5 separate regions of the Homo sapiens genome follow, and all the other regions are linked to region 4. The links are contacts of gene promoters, found by promoter capture Hi-C in blood cells and fetal thymus (Javierre and others, 2016). All regions are on one chromosome and are shown on one strand. The core of a region is centred on a gene start or on the middle of the fragment in contact, and the rest is flanking DNA. Distances in the headings are between cores, read along the strand shown.

Region 1 (4,745 bases), core at 1,313-3,812, 330 kb after region 4:
CTGACAGGAACTGTGTCACATGGTGTATCCTTACTGCAAGGGAATGGGGTGGGGCTGAGAAAAATGAGGTTTTAATTTTTTCCCCAGTCTTTTTTTTTTTTTCTTTGAGATGGAGTCTTGCTCTGTTGCCCATGCTGGAGTGCAATGGTGTGGTCTCTGCTCACTGCAACCTCTGCCTCCTGGGTTCAAGCAATTCTCTTGCCTCAGCCTCCCAAGTAGCTGGGACTACAGGTGTGTGCCACCACACCCGGCTAATTATTGTATTTTTAGTAGAGACGGAGTTTCACTATGTTGGGCAGGCTGGTCGTGAACCCCTGACCTCATGATGCATCCACCTCAGCCTCCCAAACTGTTGGGATTACAGGCGTGAGCCATCGTGCCTGGCCTCCCCAGTCTGTATAGTAGATAAAGGCAAGATAATGTGGGCTCGGAAAAGATGGTGAATGATTCCACCTACAGTACCTGCCACAATTTACATTCTGGAGGATGAATTTAGAACTAAGACTCTATACTCCCCTAGCAGGAAATATGAATAGGCATTGATTCCCGATGGTACTTATAATGTTGTTGGTATTCTATAAATTCAAATTCAATGCCGTCCTTTTTCCTGGATCTAATTTTGAATGATTTTATGACTTAAGGGAACTGCTTCATCTAGTTTCAGTGGGAATTTAGATAAATCTGCTTTTGATAGGTAATTACCCAAGGTTTGGTTTGTATAAAATAAACTTTCCAACAGAAGGGGGGCACTCAACTGTAGATGAAGATAATTAAATGATAATTAAAATGGGGGTGGTTTAGCAATAACAATACAAATGGGGAAAGGGCAAGATGGCATACTGTAAAGGAAACCATTTCTATTGGAATACTCAGAATTAAATACTACTAGTTCTGTTTAAAGACTGCTATTCAAAAATTATTGTTCAATTACTCCAGTATTTGCTATCTAACTTACCCAAAGACATTCATTTATCACCATAAGCTTGGGAATAGGATCTAGCCATTGCAACTATAGACTCCAGAAATTCAGAAAGAAGATTCAGACTTACCTTTGTTATAATGTTTTTTTTTTTTTTTAAGAGACAGAGTCTTGTTCTGTCGCCCAGGCTGGAGTGCAATGGTGAGATCTTGGCTTACTGCACCTCCACCTCCCAGTTTCAAGTGAGTCTCCTGCCTCAACCTCCCGAGTAGCTGGGATTACAGGCGCCCGCCATTATGCCCGGCTAATTTTTGTATTTTTAGTACAGACGGGGTTTCACCACGTTGCCCAGGCTGGTCTCAAACTCCTGACCTCAGGTGATCTGCCTGCCTTGGCCACCCAAAGTGTTGGGATTACAGGTGTGAGCCACCGTGCTCAGCCTGATATAAATTTTAAATGCTCTATTATTAAGAAGAAAATCACCAAAGTAACAATCTTATCAATGATGGATTCAAGAATGGAATGAAGGATGGAAAGAGCAAAGCATGCATTAGGCATTTTGTACGTCTGTCACCTACATAGCTAAAGAAAGAGAGGGATGAAGGTATTAGTTAGGATACAATCTCAGGTGAAGGTAACAGAGCCCCAAAGTAACAGTGTGCTGAACCAGATGGAAGCTTATTTCTGTCTTGTGAAGATGGCCCAGGGCAGGTATAGTGGCTCTGATCCACAAGATCATGCAGAGACCTTGGCTCCTTCTGCCCTGTTTCTTTGCCATTCCAAGCAGAGGGGTAGAGGCAAGAAAAAGGGTGAAGGGATGACTTTTAAGGTATGACCAGATACTTTTAAGGGTATGACCAGAAATCACAACCCATTGTGCTCAGGATTTAGATTTATGGCCACACCTAGCTACAAATGAGTCTGGTTTTTATTTTGGATACCCATGTGTCGAGTTAAAAATTAGGGGTGCTATTATTTAAAAAGAAGAGAATAAATTTTGAGATGTTGTCTTAGCTGTTTGTGTTGCTATAACACAATACCTGAGACTGGGTAATTTATAAAGAACACAAACTTATTTCTCACAGTTTTCACAGCTGGGAAGTCGAAGATCAAGGTACCAGCAGGTTTGGTTGGTGAAGGCTGCTTTTTGATTCCAAGATGGCACCTTGTTGCTGTATGCTATGGAGGGGAGGAATGCTGTGTGAGGCTTCCTTTACAAAGGCCTTAATCCTATTCATGAGGAAGAAGCCCCCATGGCCTACTCACCTCTTAAAGGCCCCACCTCTTAATACTATCAATTGGCCATTGTATTAGTCCATTCTCACACTGCCATAAAGAACTACCTGAGCCTGGGTAATTTATAAAGAAAAGAGGTTTAATTGGCTCACAGTTTCACAGGCTGTATAGGCAGCATGGCTGGGGAGGCTTCAGGGAACTTACAATCATGGTGGAAGGGAAAAGGGGAAGCAAGCATGTCTTTAGATGGCAACAGGAGAGAGAGAGTAAGGGGGGGATGTGCAACACACTTTTAAACAACCAGAGCTCATGAGAACTCACTTACTATCATAAGAAAAGCAAGGGGAAAATCCTCCCCCATGATTCAATCACCTTCCACCAGGTCCCTCCCCAACATGGGGAATTACAATTTGACATGAGATTTGGATGGGGACACAGAGCCAAACCATATCCACCATTAAGTTTCAACAGCTGCATTTTGGAGGGGACACAGTCTAACCATAGCAGATCCAGTGAACCATCTTTGCTACCATAAAACTGTTGCTACTATAGGAAACAGAACAATTATTTTAAAGCAAATTTGGAAAACTTGAAGCCAGGGGGCTCTCAGGTGTGTGCAGAAACAAATCTCTCTCGTCCTCTTGCCATATTAATAACCCATGATTCCTTATGAGTTTTGGGGCTTTTAAGTGGACACCCAGAGCCAGCTATTGTCGGCTACTGCCCTGCATTAGCCCCTTGCCAAGCAAGCCAGGCCCTGGGGAATTCTACTACCATGGGAGATACACGCAGACAATGCTCTCTCTCTCCGACTACATGAGGTATTGCAGAGTGTATTAATTCTCTCTCTCTCTTTTTTTTTTTTTTTTTTTGAGATGGAGTCTGGCTCTGTCGCCCAGGCTGGAGTGCAATGGCATGATCTCAGCTCACTGCAAGCTCTGCCTCCTAGGTTCACGCCATTCTCCTGCCTCAGCCTCCCGAGTAGCTGGGACTACAGGCGCTCACCACCACACCCAGGTAATATTTGTATTTTTTTAGTAGAGACAGGGTTTCACCATGTTAGCCAGGATGGTTTTGATCTCCTGACCTCGTGATCTGCCCGCCTTGGCCTCCCAAAGTGCTGGGATTACAGGCATGAGCCACCGCGCCCAGCTGCAGACTGGATTAATTCTCTACGACTGCCAGTTATTTCCTGTAAAGAGGATGGTGGTCACACCCTTCTCCTGTAAACTTTATCTGCAACCACTTCTCGTTCTGATCTGATGAACAAAAATTTGAAAAGAAGTCAATAGAAAAACTAGGACACAACCATGGTGGTGTGGGAGGCACCACAGGAAGAGGAGTCAATGGGTTGGTTGGAGAAAGAAAGCTTCTATGAGGCCTCTGGGTGGCCCACGGAGAGAGAGGTGGATGTTAGGGAGAAAGAGAACCAAGAGAGGGGAAGAAAATGGATAATGAGGCCAGGTGTGGTGGCTGATGCCTGTAATCCCAGCACTTTGGGAGGCTGAGGCGGGTGGATCACCTGAGGTCAGGAGTTCAAACCAGCCTGGCCAACATGGTGAAACCCCGTTTCTACTAAAAATACAAAAATTAGCCAGGCGCGATGGTGCACGCCTGTAGTCCCAGCTACTTGGGAGGCCAAAACAGGAGAATGGCTTGAACCCGGGAGGCGGAGTTTGCAGTGAGCCGAGATTGCCCCACTGCACTCCAGCCTGGGAGACAGAGCAAGACTCCATCTTAAAGAAAAATAAAAATAAAATGGATAATGAGGAAAGAAAATAGGTTTCCTCCCTAATGAAAGTGAGGTAGGTCTGGGGAAGCTGTGAATCTCATGTATCAGAGAGGTTGAGGCAGGCATACATCTGAGGTGGCAGAGGCTACTAACCTAACATAAAGAGGACCCACAGAAAGATGGTAAGTGAGGCAATGCTAGGGAATTACAGCAAGAACAGTGGGAACAAGTGTTTCATGATATGGAGGAAATCCCAGGAAAACTCCCAAATGTTCAGTCTCTTGACATGCTCCAGCATTCTTCCCACTGGGACCCCAGTCCACCGACCTCCCCTCAATTACTCGCTTTTCTATGACCTCCTTGTCTCCCTTCTTCCCACCTTGATCAGTTTGGATTCCGTGGTTCATCCCTGACATCACACCTTGATATGACATTCAATTCACCTGCCTCTCTTTCCATCCACACTTCCCTGGCAAAACCCCAACTCTGATGAACTTAGCACCCCTCACCCTCCATTCCCTGCCTGCACCTGAGCAGCTAGCTGTGGCGGAAAAAAGCCCACATAGGATGGTGAATGTCAGGAGCCCACAGCCTCGTCCAGTTGTCCAGCTTATTGCCATGGTCAAGTTGCTCTCCCCCTTTGAAATGACTACCTTATAGCTTTTTCCTCTGTCATCAACCTTTCAATATCACCTCTCTCCTTCTCACTCTTAGCTGTTGGCCTGGCTCCTGTTGTCTCTTTTTATTTTTATTTTATTTTATTTTTAAAGTTTTTTTAAAAATTTTTGTCTTTTATGATTTTATTTTTTTGAGACAGAGTCTCGGCAGGGTGTGTTGTCTCACACCTGTAATCCCAGC
Region 2 (4,981 bases), core at 1,817-4,316, 350 kb after region 4:
GTCACCCAGGCTGGAGTGCAGTGGTGTGATCACAGCTTGAGGCAGCCTTGATCCTCCTGCCTTAGCCACCCAGGTAGCTGGAACTACAGGCACAGGCCCCCATGCATGGCTAATTAAAAATTTTTTTTGTGTGGGGATGGGGTCTCCCTGTGTTGCCCAGGCTGGTCTCAAGCTCCTGGGCTCAAGCCATCCTCCTGCCTCGGCCTCCCAAAGTGCTGGGATTACAGATGTGAGCCACTGTGCCCAGCCTTCAGTTCATTATTGAGCATCTACTATATGCCAGCAGTTGGGCCAGAGGCTGGAGATATATAAGCCATCAAACACAGTCCCTGATGCTGAGGACCTGGGTCCAGAGTAGTTGGGAGACAGCATGGAAACAGAACCTTTCAAATCCCTAAAACACCCACCACAGCAAGTCCATGGGCAGGCTCTGTGGTGGACCCTGGGACAAATCGTTAGACCCACCCTGGAGGACAGACTCTGAATGATAACTAAGTCAGAGGCTTTTGTTGGATTTTATTTTTCCTTTTTCATAATCATTTCCAGATTTACTTAGAAGTTGTCTGAAATACACATTTGTCTGGAGAAAGAAAATCTGGCTGAGGTGAGAATCCCTAAGCTGGCTCTAAGCTTCCCTGAAAGGAAAGGCCAATGTATCATCAGCTAACTGTCACACAGGAATCCCTTCTGGGGCATCCCCTGGACCTTTTACCAAAGGTTGGACCCACCACATCCAAGGTCTCTTATTCCCCCATCAGTGCTGTGCTGTTCTAGGTTAACGCTATTTTGGGAATGCAGTTCTTCATTTCAGTGTGAATTTCCTCATATTTCTGCACAAATTGAGTGAAATCCTTGGTGCATTTTTTTTCTTAGATGGATGGAAGCTAAAAGAGAATGGAAGGCCTCCAGCTGTTTGAGGCTCTGTCCTCAACGACAATCAAAATTCTCCATCTTTTCTTGTTCTTGGCACTTTCTGATTGAAATAAGATTCCAGCATTTATCTGCACCTGCAATTTTGACAAGAAAGGAAAATTTAAAAGACAAGTGAAAGAATTCTCTGAGGGAAGTCAGTGAGTCGACAGTAGTCAGACGCCTCCAAATCTCTTTTTGCATTCCTCCGTCAATTAAGCTACAGTCACATATTGGAGAGCAGAACTTAAGTCTGTGAGTAGAAATGCAAAAATGTGTGTCGATCAGTAGCTGGAACCTTCCTCTGGAGCGAGTATTACTTGGAGAGCAGCTGATGATCCATTTGGCATTGAAATGGAGAGGATTTTGAGTCAAAGAGGCCACTTTAAATTATAGATTTGAGTTTAGTTGAAGGTCACACTTAACTTGCATGAATAAAATCTTCAGAGATTTTGGAATATACTCAGAAAATGCAGGCAATCCTGAGCACATAAGCATTTCCTTCAGGGGGTAAAAGCAGTTTAATATTATTGCCCTCTGCATAATTATTGATCATATTAGCATAGGAGATACTGAAAGGGAAGGCAGAGTAACCGTCTGATGGACACCTTGATTCTCAGCAGCTACGACCATGAACTTGGACAGGAAGTTGCCTGGAGACCTGGGAAGATTGTAAAGGGAATTTGATAGTGACCATTTCATTTTGGCTCAACAGATGACAAAAGTGACCCACTGAGAGGGGAAGGTTTATTTAGCTAATCTATATGACATAAATAAATTCCCACACCTAGGAATTTGGGAATCACCTGCCAAATGTTGATTTGATTATCTTGATGTGTGTTTAACCTGATTCAAAGCTTCCTGGTAGCCAAGATGAAGAGGGAAATGTGAATTATAAACTCATCATTTGAGAGGAGAAATGTACTCAACTTTCGAAGGAAACTAGGACATTCATAAAGAAAATTGCAAACATTAAAAACATTTGATTTGGCGGGGCACGGTGGCTCACGCCTGTAATCCCAACACTTCGGGAGGCTGAGGCAAGTGGATCACCTGAGGTCAGGAGTTTGAGACCAGCCTGGCCAACGAGATGAAACTCCGTCTCCACTAAAATTACAAAAAAATTAGCCGGGCATGGTGGCGGGAGCCTGTAATCCCAGCTACTCGGCAGGCTGAGGCAGGAGAATCGCTTGAATCTGTTAGGCGGAGATTGCAGTGAGCCGAGATGGAGCCACCGCACTCCAGCCTGGGCAACAAGAGTGAAACTGTCTCAAACAAAACAAAACAAGAAACATATGATTCATAGTTGTAATATTCTTTCCAAAGGCTATCAGTTCACAATGCAGATTAATGATTAGGATTTAGGAAATTATAAATGTACTTCAGAGGTTTTTGAACCTGTTAATATGAATTAACTTGCAGAATGTCCTGATTCCTCCCCCCAACACTAATCTAAAGCCTATGTTTTTCCCCTGTCGCTTGCTGTGTTAATTGGATCACAGAGATAATTCCCCTCCCATAAAATGTAATCTCTGCAGGTTTTGGAATCTACATTCTGCCGCATTTTATAGGATTATCTCTCAAAGGTAACAGATTAGAAGCCCTGGATGGTGAAAATAAACTGAAATTTGGGCTGTAATCCCTTTCAGTGAGGATGGGGATGGGGGAGGCTTCCAGGTTCTAATGAATGAGAGAATGCTAGATTGGCAGTCTGTTTTTGTTTTGTTTTGTTTTGAGACAGAGTCTCACTCTGTGGCCCAGGCTGGAGTGCAGTGGCGTGATCTTGGCTCACGCCAACCTCCACCTCCCAGGTTCAAGCAATCCTTGTGCCTCAGCCTCCTGAGTAGCTGGGATTACAGGCATGCCCCACCACGCCTGGCAAATTTTTATATTTTTAGTAGAGATGGGGTTTTGCCATTTTGGCCAGGCTGGTCTCGAACTCCTGACCTCAGGTAATCTGCCTGCCTTGGCCTCCCAAAGTGCTGAGATTACAGGGGTGAGCCACTATGCTCGGCCTATAGTCTCTTTGTTCCCTCCCTCCCTTCCTTCCCTTATTGCCTTCTTTTTTTTTTTTTTTTTTGATAGGATCTTACTTTGTTACCCAGGCTGGAGTGCAGTGGCTTGATCTGGGCTTACTGCAACCTCTGCCTCCCAGGCTCAAGTAATCCTCTGACGTCAGCCTCCCGAGTAGCTGGGACCACCATGTCCGGCTAGACTGGCAGTCTGAACACCTGACTCCTAGTCTCTGTATAGCCACCAATTAGTAGTATAATTTATGGCGCTATTTCTCTGAGAGTTCTCTGTGACTCAGTTTCCCCTGCAAAATGAGGAGGTAGTACTAGATCAGCATTTCTCAAAATGCAGTCCAAGAAAAGCTAGTCTTTTTTTTTTTTTTTTTTGAGATGGAGTCTCACTCTGTCACCCAGTCTGGAGTGCAATGGCACCATCTCAGCTCCCTGCAACCTCCGCCTCCCGGGTTCAAGCGATTCTCCTGCCTCAGCCTCCCGAATAGCTGGGACTATAGGCACGTGCCATCACACCTGGGTAATTTTTGTATTTTTTGTAGAGACGGGGTTTCACTATGTTGGCCAGGCTGGCCTCGAACTCATGACCTCGTGATCTGCCTGCCTCGGCCTCCCAAAGTGCTGGGATTACAGGCGTGAGCCACTGCACCTGGCTGAAAAACTAGTCTTTAAAATGTTAATAGGTATTCCATGAATGAAGAACTAAAGGTCAGGTACATTTGGGGAAATCTACATGCCATCATCTCGCAGTAGGGCATCACAATGTCCATTAGCACATAATAGGCTCAGAGTCTTGAAGCAAATAAGTGCAGTTGCGTGTGTGTGTATATAGAACACACACACACACACACACATATATATAACATTTTTCTTCTTCTTCATTTTTTTAATGATATGAGGTCTCACTATCTTTTTTCTTTTTTTTTTTTTGAAATGGAGTCTTGTTCTGTTGCCCAGGCTGGAGTGCAGTGGCGTGATCTTGGCTCACTGTAACTTCTGCCTCCCAGATTCAAGCGAATCTCCTGCCTCAGCCTCCCGAGTAGCTGGGATTACAGGTGCCCGCCACCACACCTGGCTAATTTTTTTGCATTTTTAGTAAAGACATGGTTTTGCCACGTTGGCGCTGCTAGTCTCGAACTCCTGGGGGTCTCACTCTCTTGACCAGGTTGGTCTCGAACTCTTGGCTTCAAGTGATCCTCTCGTCTTGGCCTCCCAAAGTTCTGGGATTACAGGTGTGAGCCACCCTGCCTGGCCTATATATAACATTTTTTTAAACAAAGGAATTTTCAAACTTATTTTGGCTTTAGAATCCTTTTTTGGAAAGAAAACATTAACTTCCAGAATACTCTTGGTAAATGTTGAACTAGATCAGGAGTTCTCAAACTTTTTGTTCTCAGGACTCTTAAAGATTATTGAAGACTCAAAGAAGCTTTAATCTATGTGAATTATTCCATTGTTATTTATCATATTAGACACAATAAAGGATACATAAAAATGTTAATTAATTTTTAAAAAAACACGATGTGGCCGGGCATGGTGGCTCATGCCTGTAATCCCAGCATTTTGGGAGGCCAAGATGGGCGGATCACGAGGTCAGGAGATAGAGACCATCCTGGCTAACGCGGTGAAACCCCGTCTCTACCAAAAATACAAAAAATTAGCCGGGCCTGGTGGCAGGCACCTGTAGTCCCAGCTACTCAGGAGGCTGAGGCAGGAAAATGGCATGAACCTAGGAGGCGGAACTTGCAGTGAGCCAAGATCGAGCCACTGCACTCCATCCTGGGTGACAAAGCGAGACTCCATCTCAAACAAACAAACGAAAAAACCCCACAATACATGTTAATATAAATAACTTTTTTCAAAAAGTAACTATTTTCAAAAATAAAATTGAGAAGAATGGTATTGTTTTATATGTTTGCAAATATCTTTAATGTCTCATTTTGTAAAAGGCATCCAGATTCTCGTATCTGTTTCTGCTTTTAATCTCTTGTGAGATGTTTTGCTGAAGTATATGAAGAAAATCCAGCTTTATAGAGCTATAAAATTGG
Region 3 (4,607 bases), core at 1,144-3,643, 280 kb after region 4:
TGATCTAACTTCGTATGCAGGGTACACTGAAGACCTTAAGAAGTTTCTAAAACCATATACTTTAGAAGAACAGAAAAACCTCACAGTCTGTCCTGATGGAGCACTTTTTGAACAGAAGGGTCCAGTTTATGTTGCTTGTCAATCTCCCATTTCGTTACTTCAAGCATGCCGTGGTATGAATGATCTTGATTTCGGCTATTCTCAAAGAAACCCTTGTATTCTTGTGAAAATGAACAGAATAATTGGATTAAAGTCTGAAGGAGTGCCAAGGATAGATTGTGTTTCGAAGAATGAAGATATACCAAATGTAGCAGTTTATCCTCATAATGGAATTATAGACTTAAAATATTTCCCATATTATGGGGAAAAACTGCATGTGGGGTATCTACAGCCATTGGTTGCTGTTCAGGTCAGCTTTGCTCCTAACGATACTGGGAAAGAAGTAACAGTTGAATGCAAGATTGATGGATCAGCCAACCTTAAAAGTCAGGATGATCGTGACAAGTTTTTGGGACGAGTTATGTTCAAAATCACAGCATGTGCATAGTATGAGTAGGATGTCTCCACAGAGTAAATTTTGTGTTGTCTGTCTTCATTTTGTATCAGCTGGACCTTCCATTCTAGAATTATGAGACCACCTTGGAGAAAGGTGTGTGGTACATGACACTGGGTTACATCATAACGTGCTTCCAGATCATAGTGTTCAATGTCCTCTGAAGTAACTGCCTCTTGCCTCTGCTGCCCTTTGAACCAGTGTACAGTCACCAGATAGGGACCGGTGAACACCTGATTCCAAACATGTAGGATGGGGGTCTTGTCCTCTTTTTATGTGGTTTAATTGCCAAGTGTCTAAAGCTTAATATGCTGTGCTATGTAAATATTTTATGGCTATAACACTGTCATATTTTGATGTCAACAGAGTTTTAGGGATAAAATGGTACCCGGCCAACATCAAGTGACTTTATAGCTGCAAGAAATCTGGTATGTGGAGAAGTTCTGCATGTGAGGAAGGAAAAAAAGACAATAAAAATGTATTTGAAAAATATTTTTAAAAAAATTTAAACACTAAGATTTGATGAATTTCCTTTCTGCTGAACACCTGGAGGTGCTGGGAGGGAGGCACACCCACAGGTCGTGGCAGCACCACACCCCTCCCCCCGTACTTTGCCATATCCATCTCTTCATCTGGATGTTCATCTGTATCTTATGATTTTTTTTTTTTGAGACAGAATCTTGCTCTCTTGCCCAGGCTGGATTGCAGAGGCACGATCATGGCTCACTGCAACCTCTGCCTCCCAAGTAGCTGGGATTACAGGTACGTACCACCACGCCTGGCTAATTTTTGTATTTTTTCTACAGATGGGATTTCACCATGGTGGCTAGGCTGGCCTTGAACTCCTGACCTCATGTAATCCACCCACCTTGGCCTCCCAAAGTGTTGGGATTACAGGCCCAAGCCACTGTGCCTGGCAAAGACCCTGTCTTTTTTTTTTTTTTTTTTTTTTGAGACGGAGTCTCACTCTGTTGCCCTGGCTGGAGTGCAGTGGTGCGATCTCAGCTCACTGCAACCTCTGCCTCATGAGTTCAAGCAATTCTCCTGCCTCAGCCTCGTGAGTAGCTGGGATTACAGGCGCCTGCCACCACGCCCAGCTAATTTTTGTATTTTTAGTAGAGACGGGGTTTCACCATGTTGGCCAGGCTGGTCTCGAACTCCTGACCTCATGATTCGCCTGCCTTGGCCTCCCAAAGTGCTGGGATTATAGGTGTGAGCCACCACGCCTGGCCAAGACCCTGTCTTAAAAAAAAAAAAAGGCAGGGCGTGGTGGCTGACACCTATAATCCCAGCACTTTGGGAGGCCAAGGCGGGCATATCACTTGAGCCCGGAAGTTTGAGACCAGCTTGGCCAACATGGTGAAACCCATCTCTACTAAAAATACAAAAATTATCTGGGCATCGTGGCGCGCACCTGTAATCTCAGCTACTCAGGAGGCAGAGGCAGGAGAATCGCTTGAACCCAGGAGGTGGAGGTTGCATCACGCCATTGCACCCCAGACTGGGCGACAGGGCAGGACTCTGTCTCAAAAAAAAAAAAAAAAAAAACACACAAAACGCCTGTAATCCCAGCACTTTGGAAGCCTTGAACCTGGAAGGCAGAGGTTGCGGTGAGCCAAGATTGCACCATTGCACTCCAGCCTGGGCAACAAGAGCGAAACTGTCTCAAAAAAAAGATAGAGTCTTGATCTGTTGCCTAGGCTGGAGTGCAGTGGCATGATCTTGGCTCACTGCAACCCCCACATCCCAGGTTCAAGTGATTCTCCCACCTCAGCCTTCCAAGTAGCTGGGATTACAGGTGTGAGCCACCATGCCCGTCTCATGGCGGACGTACAAAAAATTTTTGTATTTTTAGTAGAGAAGGGATTTCACCACGTTGGCCAGACTGGTCTCCAACTCCTGGCCTCAGTAATCCACCTGTCTTGGCCTCCCAAACTGCTAGGATTAGGCAGGATAATAGGACCTGGAGGCAGGGAACCTAAGGACTTCCGAGAACTAAATCAAATGGAAACATCTCATCTATGACAGGAAATATCCTTCTCATTTACATAGGCTGTACAGTGAGTAAATGATTTTGTAACTTTACTTCATCCTCTTCATTTACATAGGGTGTACGTCAAGTAACCAATGGAAACCTCTAGAAGGTATTTAAACCCCAGAAAATTCTGTAACGAGGCTCTTGACCCCCTATGCTCAGGCCTGCTTTCACCCTCTGGAGTATACTTTCATTTTCGAGAAATCTCTGCTTTTGTTGCTTCATTCTTTACTTGCTTTGTTTGTGCATTTTGTCCAATTCTTTGTTCAAGACGCCAAGAACCTGGACACCCTCAACCGGTAACAGGACTACAGGCATGAGCCGCCACGCCCGGCCTATGATATCTTTTATAATAAACTGGCAATGTGTTTCCCTGAATTCTGTGAACTGTCTTAGCAAATTAGTCAAACCCAAGGAGGAGGTCGCAGGAACCCTGGTTTCTAGCCAGTCAGAAGTACCAGTGGCCTAAGGATAGCGTCAGAATTTTCATTCACTCATTCATTCATTTACTTATCGTTCTTGTGGGTACATAGTAGGTGTATGTATTTCTGGAGTACATGAGATATTTTGGTACAGGCATGCAATGTATGGCTCAGAATTGAACTGAATTACGGGACACCCTGATGGAGAATCCACTGAAGGATTGCTTAGTGGGATAAAATCCCCACACATTTTGGTGGCCAAGGGTCTCAGAAGTCTTCTCTGTTGATTGTGAGATTAAAGGCCAAAAAATAACGGTTTTTATTTTTTGTAGAAATGGGGTCTCCACCTGTCACCCAGGCTGGTCTTGAATTCCTGGCCTCAAGCAATCCTCCCACCTCACATCATTGTACTGGGCTTGGTTTTTCTTTTGACGCATGACAACTAAGTGCAATATGGGATGCTGGATTGAATTCTGGACCAAGGTTTTAAAAAACTTTTTTTATTTTGCTACAGGGGACATTAGTGAGATAACTAATGAAATTTAGATAAAGTACACAGATTATAGTACTGTGTCAGTGTTAATTTCATGATTTTCATAACTGTATTGTGATTATGTAAGGGAATATCATTGTTTTTACAAAGTTATTTAGAGGTAAAGTGGCATCATGTCGGCAATTTACTCAAATGTATAAACAGAGGGGCCAGGTGGGGTGGCACACGCCTGTAATCCCAGCACGTTGGGAGGCCAAGGCAGCTGGATACTTGAGGTCAGAAGTACAAGACTAGCCTGACCAACATGGTGAAACCTCATCTGTACTAAAAATACAAAAATTAGTTGGGTGCGGTGGTGCACTTCTGTAATCCCAGCTACTTGGGAGGTTGAAGCACAAGAATCATTTGAACCCGAAAGGCCAAGCTTGCAGTGAGCTGAGATCCCAGCTGAGGTGCGCAGACTGCTTGAACCCAGGAGGTCAAAGTTGCAGTAAGCTATGATCATGCCACTGTACTCCAGCCTGGGTGACAGAGTGAGACCCCATCTGTAAAAAAAAATAAATAAATAAATTGGTATGATCACTTTGGAAAGCTGTTAGTATACTCAATTGAACACACACGTACCCTAAGACACAGCAATTTTACTACTAAATATATGTCCTGCAGAAATATGCACACAGATGCACCAAAAGACATATACAGGAATATAATTCACATCAGCCCCAAACTGGATACAACCCAAAAATAGAATGGATAAGTAAAATGTGGCATATTTATAGAACTGAACACTACTGGCAATAAAAATGAATGAACTGCAACTATATACAACCACGTGGATGAATTTCTCAAACATAATGTTGAGCAAGACACAAAAGAACACACGAATATGAGTCCGTTTACATATACTTCAAAAGCAGGCAAAACTAATTCTTAAAAAATTTTTACTTTTTAATTGAATTATAACCAGAGAAAATGTACAAATCTTAAATGTATGGCATTTTAACATATGGAAAACATTCATAATGAATGTTAAATACCTAGATCCAGATATGGAATATTTCATTCCCCAGTAGCTGTGTCCCCCTCCCAGATGATAATTCCAAA
Region 4 (4,721 bases), core at 375-2,874:
AAAAAAGGATTAGTTTAACAATACTCTTACAAATTGGTAAGCAAAGATAAAGCCAATAGAAAATTGGGCAACAGAAAAAACAAAAACAGATACAAAAAATAATATATAAATAGTAACATGTAATTAGATATAAAATATATATTATTGTTACATTGTTAAGTTTTAGATATAAAATGCATATAAATAGCACAAACCTAAGTACTAAAATATAAAAACATTACTGGGTATGCGAAACACCAAATAAGGACAATAGTCACCACTATAAAGAAGAATGGGAGAGTTTAGCCGTCTTTTATTTTGAAAAATTCGACATAAGTCTGGCAAATGTTAACACTGTTTAAAGTTGAGTAGTGAATATATAGGTATTATCTTACTCTCTACTGGTCTCTGTGTTTAAAATATTTCACGATAAAGTGGGAAAATGGTTAATTTTACATAAAAAGAACTTTAACAGATGCAAAAAATAAAACCTCTCTCATTCGACAAGCAGCCTAAATGGGGAAAAAAGAACCCACTCAAAAAAAAGGTAGCAGATAATGTCACCGTGGCTTACCAGCCTAATCAAACTTATTACTTGTTATGTATATATCCTTATTAAACTAAGTCGTTACTGTGTTAAAGCATTTTAGTGTTTAAATAAAAGATTTCAGAATACAGCAGAAATACATTCCAATATGTTGGGGTTTTTACGCTTAGGAAAACCTACAATAGTAGGTGATTTGACATTTGAATCACACCTATCTGAATTAAGATGTCCAGCACTACCAAACAAAAGCCACACGAGGCCACGAAACACTCCCAACTCTGCATGTTTTAGCCTTTTTAAAGTCCTAGAAACCAACTGATACTGATTAAAAACCAAACAAAAAAAAAATACAGGCCTCAGAAAAATACACTATTTTGCACACAAAGTCCATCCATAGGCCTCAGATCTAGAACTCCTGCTTTAAAGTTGCTTCTCCAATCTCGATCCGAAACACTGGCTGAGTTATGCTGGAAAAGAATGCAAAGTGTACGGGGCTTGAGTTCCTGTTGCGTAAAACCTTTCCGGCTTTCAGCAACTTCTCGAGAGGTTAACACCTTTAAGGAGAGACTTTGCTCCCTGTCGATGCCGTGGCTGGACAAATGCCGCTCTCAACTGCTACAGACCAAAGTCTACGCTTTAAAGATAGAGAAGCCATTCTGTCAAAGTGAAAACAGAAGCGGTAGGTAGGAAGCCGCCCCCCTTTCTTTCAAGCACAGAGACCCAGAGAGACGCCCAGGAGCTCCCGAAAAAAACGTTGCTGATTAGAGCTGCCGGGTCAGAAACAGCTGTGAGACACTAAAGTCCCCACTGGTAAGCGCCCCAGCTCCACCTCGGCCCCTATCCCCAAGGTTGGGTATTGGTTAAAGGGGGGAAGGGAATACCTCCACTAACAACCGCTACAACCGCCTCCTGCCAAGTCCCCGCTCGGGCCCACTAAACTCACAGCCTGAAGAATCCCACACTCACTGGAAAGTGGGGCCCGGTCCTGGTCCCGGTCCGGCTCCCGGAATTCGGCGGGTCTCCCAGGGTTTGGGGGGAGGTGGCGGCTGGGACGCCATCTCCTCCGCCTCCTCTCGGCTCCCGCTCCTACCCCTGACTGTCCAGGCCCGCGTAGACCAGCACCTGGAGCGTAAGACACAACGGGCAGAACACCGAGCCGTCCACCCCGCCCACCCTTGCAGTCAGGACAAGGCTTGAGTTACTTTGCCAGCTGAATCCATACAGCGGGAGGATGCCACTAATTTGTAGGAAGAAACACGCTCTTTGTATTTGCCCCAGAAAGAGCTGCCTTTCTAAACCTCAGGGTAAAGGCTCATCGATATTTCTGGTAGCGGCTACAACTCCCTAGACGTCGGAGTCCCACCGAGGCTTTTCTGGGAGTGGACCAGTCGGGCTGGGAGTAAAGCCGCACGCACTCCTTCGCTCGTGGGGGAGGTAGGGTGAGGTGGCAAACCAGGCAGTTTTTCGGATTTCCTCTACAAACAAGAAGGGAGAAGCTCACTTAGTCCTAGCGAGAGCGGGCTGGTACTTTTGTTCTAAAACGCACGTTTCCTCGGGGAACAGAATTGCTAGACGCAATAGGTGCGTTGTCTTTAGTCTTCCCTCTTCCCTTCGAGGGCCGGAAGGGGTTAAATCTCAGGCTCCGGCGTCTGGGGAGAAGGTGAGGCGGGTAGGTAAGAGGTGAAGGAGTGCAGACTGGGTGCAAAAGAGGTGTGGCGGGAGAGAGTTCGTTTCTCTCCTGCTGGAGCGGCTTTGTTAGCAAAGGAGGGGTGAGTGGGAAGTTTGTTGCACCTGACCGAAGGGGGAAGGGCTTGCTTGGCGAAAACTGAGGCTTGAGGTTAGATCTCGGGATGAACTTTTCAAGAGTCCACAGTAGATTCCAGAGCTGAATGTTTCAGAAGCCCAGTGAAGTGTGATCACCTCTTTCTCCGTAAATCCACACCCCCAGCCCCACGCCGCGTTACGAATGACACCCTTCGGTAGGGAAATGAGTTTTAAAAGATCTTAGGATATGAGACTCAGTCTGGTCATTTCGCTAGTTTTTCTTATACCCTGCCCCTTTTCTCGTTTTCGATGACTGGTTTTTGTAATCGTCCAAGAGGTGAAAATAAAGTCCTTCCTCTCCTCCAGTAAGCCAGAGACTGGGCTAGTTATCCTTGATTTGGGGAGGAGGGATTCAGTCCTCCTAGGGAGCCTGACACATGAAAGGCGGCTTTGTAGCAACTTGTTACAGAGTTATTTCTATAAAACAAACACATAAACGAAAAGCAAACATCTTGAGGGTAACCAACACTGGAAAACTTACATTGTGGAATGCCTTTCTCAGGGCTTGCTTTCAAACATAATAAATCTAATATGGACAACCGATTTCTAATATCTTATGAAATCCTGGCATTTAATTATCTCACGATGAAAAAACCAAATTTAAGACGTAACGTATTTTCTCCTTTTAATGTTAACATTCTTGAGAAGTTGATAAATTGTTGGTAGGTGAAAATGATGTTGAGAGGTTTGTAAATTCATAGCTCGTTTATTAACACACATTCAAAAGAGGTCTTTTTTGGGGTCTATTTTTAGACCTCTTCAAATTACTCAGGACTGGAAGTTTTGTAATTCTCATCAATCAGGTTTGGGAACTTCTCAGAGCCAGGAGATTGTAATGTGTCATTTATTTACTTTGCATGATACCTTTGTTCTTGTGAACTTACTGGAAAAATAAACATTGTCTTCTAGCCATGGAAAATAAAATAAATTTTAATATAGCTATTTAAGTATCGAGGGAAATCTTCATTAAGTGTCCTTTTAAAGTGCTTATTGATTTATTGGAAGAGGGTGTATTTCTTCTGTCTCTTTTTGAGTTAAATGTTACTTCTGAATTAAGTAAAATTCTTGACCTTAACTAATGGAGAAAAAATAACTTAGAGTAACAGGTGAAACAGAAACAGTTTCTCTGTGTATGTAGTCAGAGATGCACTGTAAATGCTTATATTCGCCCCTCACAGCATCCGATCTCTTCTCTGCATCAAAGTAGATTAAATGGGCTGGGAAAAGGGATCCAGATCACTAGTAAATAGTAATGACTTGACCTTGACCACACAGATCTTATTTATTTATTTATTGAGATGGAGTCTCGCTCTGTTGCCCAGACTGGAGTACAGTGGCACGATTTTGGCTCTCTGCAACCTCTGCCTCCTGGGTTCGGGCGATTCTCCTGCCTCAGCCTCCTGAGTAGCTGGGACTACAGGTGCGTGCCACCACGCATGGCTAATTTTTTGTATTTTTAGTAGAGATGGGATTTCATCGTGTTAGCCAGGATGGTCTCGATCTCCTGACCTCATGATCCTCCTGCCTCAGCCTCCCAAAGTCCTGGGCTTACTGCAACCTCCACCTACTGGGTTCAAGTGATTCTCCTGCCTCAACCTCCCGAGTAGCAGGGATTACAGGTGCACACCTCCACACGTGGCTAATTTTTGTATTTTAGTAGAGATGGAGTTTTACCATGTTGGCCAGGCTGGTCTTGAACTCCAGACCTCAAGTGATAATGCCTGCCTCGGCCTCCCAAAGTGCTGGGATTACAGGCGTGAGCCACTGGGCCTGGCCAGATCTTCATTATTTAGAGGCTGTTTTCCACATATTCTGTTTTCTTTCTTGAAAATACCCTGGAGCCCAAATTTACTTAGGCAACCCTAACTATGCGTTTCTCAATTCTGGTGTTTCAAAGTTGTCACCTTGTCAGCTTGTATGGTGTGTCCATACAAGCCTGATTTTCTTCCCTCTGCTGACTCACATATTCCCCTGAATTAGAATTCAGCCAGAGGCAATCTGTTTTTAGTAGTCCTGGCTGCTGAACTGATTTTTATGGTGAAGAGTTCTATGTAACTATATGCCTGTCTTCCTCATTATTTTGTGCAAGAATCTTGGTAAGTGGCCCCAAACATTTAGCAACTTGCAAGTAAGTAGGAAGTTTTAGAGGTTTGGAAAACGCAGACTAGAAGAATCACGTCTTTATACTAAGCTGTTGGGAGGAGCTTCACCCTTCCACAAATTTTAAGCAAGTTCATTTGAATTATGAAACTGCACAAATTAAAAGATGCCACTGTCGTTCATCTTTATGACCACAGTTACAGCATGCCATAAGATTGCCATGCAATGATTATTTTCTAAAATATGGGCAGTTGATCATTTTAAGGTAATA
Region 5 (4,843 bases), core at 2,331-4,830, 300 kb after region 4:
AGGAATGTTAGACTAGTAAGGGAAGTATGTTAGCGGTGGAAAGTATCCGAGTCACACAGCACCAAAACATGTTACCAGTGGCGAATCCGTACAAGTCTGCAGCAACCTCAATTCTTGCCTCCTTAGAAGAAAGAATTTAACTGAAGGGTGTAAGGCAGAAGGAGAGACCGAGGCAAATTTTAGAGCAGGAGTGAAAGTTTATTAAAAAGCTTTAGAGCAGGAATGAAGGAAAGGAAAGTACACTGGGAAGCAGGCGACTTCAAAGGCAAGTGTGTGGTTTGACCTTTTGACTTGGGGTTTTATATGCTGGCATATTTCTGGGGGCTTGCATCCCTTCTCCCCTGATTCTTCCCTTGGGGTGGGCTGTGCTTATGTGCGGTAAGCCTGCTAGCACTTGGGAGGTGAGCACGCATGGTGTGTTTACTGGAGTTGTGCGCATGCTCACTTGAGGTGTTCTTCCCTTACCAGTCGAATGTCCCTAGAAGGTGGCCATGTATGTTAAACTCCGTCATTTTGACTCTTAATGCTCGTGCTTGAGCCTACTTGCCCAACTCCTAAGATCTTATCGGGAAGCTGCTGATCGCCAGTTTCAGGTGTTTTTATCTATTGGAAGACTGCCTTTCCCTGGTATTGGCTGTGAACAATTTTAGAGAAACTGTTTAACAACCACCTGACCATCACCTGATGGTTGCCTGACATTCCTGGTGTATGTGAGTGTGTTTGTGTGGGGGGCTCTCTTACCCTACTCATGTCTGACTCGCTGTCTACTCTAACAAAAGTACCTATGAAAACCCCTAAAATCCACTCCCAGGCCCCTGTCCACTTAGCCTTGAGGTTCCATGTATGAAACCTTGAAATAAGTGACTTATCATACAGTGATGGAAAATGCTAAAGTCTTTTCTTTATTCCTTTACGTCTGAGAGGATTGCTCTCTCTCAGCTATTAAACCATTACTCTCTGACTGAAGTGGTGGAGAATTCCATAATGAAGATGATTAGCAAGATATCATATGTCACAAACTCAAATGCCTTGGGGGCCAGCAGGTGATGGAAATCAGAGCAAATAAAACATGGATGGATGCAGTTGCAGGCCAGTGGGTGATCTCCGGCTCACTTTCTTTCTGATACCCCTTGATATGGTTTGGCTGTGTCCCCACCCAAATCTCATTTTGAACTGTAGTTCCCATAATCTCCATGAGTCATGGGAGGGACCCATTGGGAGGTAATTGAATCATGGGGGTGGTTTCTCCCATCCTGTTCTTGCCATAGTGAGTTAGATCTCACGAGATCTGGTGTTTTTATAAGGGGCTTCCCCCTTTGCTGGGCATTTGTTTTCTCTCCTGCCGCCATGTGAAGAAAGACATATTTGCTTCCCCTTCCACCATGACTGTAAATTTCCTGAGGCCTTGCCAGTCATGCTGAACTGTGAGTCGATTATTATTATTATTATTATTATTATTATTATTATTTCTTTTTGAAACAGAGTCTTGCTCTGTCGCCCAGGCTGGAGCGCAATGGCGCCATCTTGGCTCACTGCAACTCCGCCTCCCGGGTTCAGGCGATTCTCCTGCCTCAGCCTCCCGAGTAGCTGGGATTACAGGCAAGCGCCACCACACCTGGCTAATTTTTGTATTTTTTTTTTTTTTTTTAGTAGAGACGTGGTTTCACCATGTTAGCCAGGCTGGTCTCAAACTCCTGACCTTGTGATCCACCCACCTCGGCCTCCCAAAGTGCTGGGATTACAGGTGTGAGCCACCATGCCCGGCCTATTATTATTATTTTGAGATGGAGTCTCGCTCTGTCACCCAGGCTGGAGTGCAGTGGTGTGATATCTGCAACCTCCGCCTCCTGGGTTCAAGCAATTTTCCTGTCTCAGCCTCCTGAGTAGCCAGGACTACAGGTGCCCGCCACCACGCCTGGCTAATTTTTGTATTTTTAGTAGAGACAGGGTTTCACCATATTATTCTGGCTGGTCTTGAACTCCTGACCTCAGGTGATCCACCTGCCTGGGCCTCCAAAAGTGTTGGGATTACAGGCATGAGCCTCCGCGCCGCCTGAACTGTTAGTCAATTAAGCCTCTTTCCTTTATACATTACCCAGTCTCACATATGTCTTTATTAGCAGCATGAGAACAGACTAATATACCCCCTTTCATCAGTCTTTAATAGTGAGGAGAAACTACCCTGTTGGCAAATTGTTTCCGGTTTCTGGGTGGGATTGGTAGAAAGCCTTCTCTTCCATGCCCTGCTGAAAGGCTGATCTCCCTAATAACTGCAAGCCATAGGCTAGGGCACTTCTGAAGGCCTACTATGTGCAAACACTGTTCTAAGTGCTTCCACCTTAATTGGCTTCTTTTTTTTTTTTTTTTGAGACAGAGTCTTGCTTTGTCACCCAGGCTGGAGTGCAGTGGTGCGATCTCAGCTCACTACAACCTCTGCCTCCTGGGTGCAAGCGATTCTCCTGCCTCAGCCAACCGAGTAGCTGGGATTACAGGCACCTGCCACAATGCCTGGCAATTTTTTTTTTTTTTTTTAGTAGAGACAGGGTTTTACCATGTTGTTCAAGCTGGTTTCGAACTCCTGACTTCAAGTGATCTGCCCACCTCAGCCTCTCAAAGTGCTGGGATTATAGGCATGAGCCACTGTGCCTGGCCCTCTTAATTAGTTTATTTAATCCTCTCTACATCGCCACAAGATAGGTACTACTATGATCACTATTTTACAGGTGAGCAAATGAAGCACAGAGAGGTTAAGGAGGAACAGGGTTATCTGTTACAACTCTTCAGCAGGGCATTCTGGGCAGTTCTGTCTAACTTGTGAGAGGCAAGGGGACTATCTGTTAATTATTTGTTATCAATATTATTTTTTGAGCAGAGCCTTGCTCTGTCATCCAGGTTGGAGTGCAGTGATACAATCTTGGCTCACTGCAACTTCTGTCTCCTAGGTTCAAGTGATTCTCATGCCTCAACCTCCCAAGTAGCTGGGATTACAGGCATGCACCACCATGCCTGGCTAACTTTTGTATTTTTTAGGAGAGAAAAGGTTTCACCACGTTGGCCAGAATGGGCTTGAACTCCTGATCTGTACTAGTCTGTTTTCACGCTGCTGATAAAGACATACCTGAGACTGGGCAATTTACAAAAGAAAGAGGTTTAATGGACTTATAGTTCCACATGGCTGGGGAGGCCTCACAATCATGGCAGAAGGCAAGGAGGACCAAGTCACATCTTACTTGGATGGCAGCAGGCAAAGAGAGAGAGAGAGCTTGTGCAGGGAAACTCCCATTTTTAAAACCGTCAGATCTCATGAGACTTATTCACTATCATGAGAACAGCGCAAGAAAGACCTGCTCCCATGATTCAGTTATCTCCCACCAGGTCCCTGTCACAACATGTGGGAATTACGGGAGCTATGGGTGTGAGAGAGAGCCAAACCATATCATTCTGCCCCTGGCCTCTCTCAAATCTCTTGCCTTCACATTTCAAAACCAATCATGCCTTCTCAACAGTCCCCTAAAGTCTTTTTTTTTTTTTGAGATGGAGTCTCGCTCTGTCACCCAGGCTGGAGTGCAGTGGCGCAATCTCAGCTCACTGCAAGCTCTGCCTTCCGGGTTCATGCCATTCTCCTGCCTCAGCCTCCTGAGTAGCTGGGACTACAGGCGCCCACCACCACATCTGGCTAAGTTTTTGTATTTTTAGTAGAGACGGGGTTTCACTATGTTAGCTGGGTTGGTCTCGATTTCCTAACCTCGTGATCTGCCCGCCTCAGCCTCCCAAAGTGCTGGGATTACAGGCTTGAGCCACCGCACCCGGCTGTCCCTAAAGTCTTAACTCATTTCAGCATTAACTCAAAAGTCCACAGTCCAAAATCTCATCTGAGACAAGGCAAGTCCCTTCCACATATGAGGCTGTAAAATCAAAAGCAAGTTAGTTACTTCCTAGATACAATGGGGGTACACGAATTGGGTAAATATAGCCATTTTGAATGGAGTAAATTAGTCAAAACAGAGGGACTACAGGCCCCATGCAAGTCTGAAATCCAGCAGGGCAGTCAAATCTTAAAATTCCAAAATGATCTCCTTTGACTCCATGTCTCCTATCCAGGTCATGCTGATGCAAGAGGTGGGCTCCCACGGCCTTGGACAGCTCCACCCCTGTGGCTTTGCAGGTATAGCCCCTCTCCTGGCGGCTTTCACTGGCTGGCATTGAGTGTCTGCGGCTTTTCCAGGTGCACGGTGCAAGCTGTTAGTAGATCTAACATTCTGGGGTCTGAAGGATGGTGGCCTTCTTCTCACAGCTCCACTAGGTGGTGCCCCCAGTAGGGACTCTGTGTGGGGGCTCTGATCCCACATTTCTCTTCTGTGCTACCCTAGCAGAGGTTCTCCATGAGGGCCCTGTCCCTGCAGCAAACTTCTGCCTAAGCGCCCAGGCATTCTCATACATCCTCTGACATCTAGGCAAAGGTTAAAAAAAAAAAAAAAAAAAAAAAAGGCCAGGCGTGGTGGCTCATGCCTGTAATCCCAGCACTTTGGGAGGCCAAGGTGGGTGGATCACCTGAGGTCGGGAGTTCAAGACCAGCCTGACCAACATGGAGAAACCCCATCTCTACTAAAAATACAAAATTAGCTGGGCATGGTGGCTCATGCCTGTAATCCCAGCTACTCGGGAGGCTGAGGCAGGAGAATCACTTGAACCTGGAAGGTGGAGGTTGCGGTGAGCCAAAATCGAGCCACTGCACTCTAGCCTGGGCAACAAGAGCGAAACTGCGTCTCAAAAAAAAAAAAAAAGGTAAAATAATAATAGCAACAAAAACAAATCTTTCACGCCTATAATCCCAGCACTTTGG

What was found. Contacts are between HindIII fragments. The CHiCAGO score rates a contact against its expected background, and 5 or more counts as called.
Region 1: a fragment that was not itself captured here is called in contact with the fragment with the promoter of PEX13 in region 4 in 1 of 17 cell types (total CD4 T cells); the score reaches 5.2 in total CD4 T cells.
Region 2: a contact is called between a fragment that was not itself captured here and the fragment with the promoter of PEX13 in region 4, in 1 of 17 cell types (megakaryocytes). The highest score is 5.4, in megakaryocytes.
Region 3: a fragment that was not itself captured here is called in contact with the fragment with the promoter of PEX13 in region 4 in 2 of 17 cell types (activated CD4 T cells and total CD4 T cells); the score reaches 6.6 in activated CD4 T cells.
Region 5: a contact is called between a fragment that was not itself captured here and the fragment with the promoter of PEX13 in region 4, in 13 of 17 cell types (total CD4 T cells, activated CD4 T cells, neutrophils and 10 more). The highest score is 12.6, in total CD4 T cells.

Annotation. Positions count from the first base shown.
Region 1 is chr2:60,687,316-60,692,060 of GRCh38, reverse strand. No RefSeq gene overlaps it. Among named protein-coding and RNA genes, the nearest start is that of PAPOLG, 67 kb to the left of the region's middle. The HindIII fragment of the contact is 1,928 bases long and covers 1,599-3,526 here.
Region 2 is chr2:60,668,288-60,673,268 of GRCh38, reverse strand. No RefSeq gene overlaps it. Among named protein-coding and RNA genes, the nearest start is that of PAPOLG, 85 kb to the left of the region's middle. The HindIII fragment of the contact is 2,596 bases long and covers 1,769-4,364 here.
Region 3 is chr2:60,730,830-60,735,436 of GRCh38, reverse strand. It overlaps the pseudogene ATP1B3P1. Among named protein-coding and RNA genes, the nearest start is that of PAPOLG, 23 kb to the left of the region's middle. The HindIII fragment of the contact is 3,072 bases long and covers 858-3,929 here.
Region 4 is chr2:61,014,623-61,019,343 of GRCh38, reverse strand. It overlaps PEX13 (peroxisomal biogenesis factor 13), which reads right to left and starts at 1,624. Exons shown (of 4, transcript NM_002618.4): 1 at 1,493-1,624. The coding sequence starts at 1,584. PUS10 (pseudouridine synthase 10) reads left to right here and starts at 1,089. Exons shown (of 18, transcript NM_144709.4): 1 at 1,089-1,336. RefSeq lists an enhancer at 1,168-1,217. The HindIII fragment of the contact is 15,520 bases long and covers 1-4,721 here.
Region 5 is chr2:60,712,181-60,717,023 of GRCh38, reverse strand. No RefSeq gene overlaps it. Among named protein-coding and RNA genes, the nearest start is that of PAPOLG, 42 kb to the left of the region's middle. The HindIII fragment of the contact is 6,738 bases long and covers 212-4,843 here.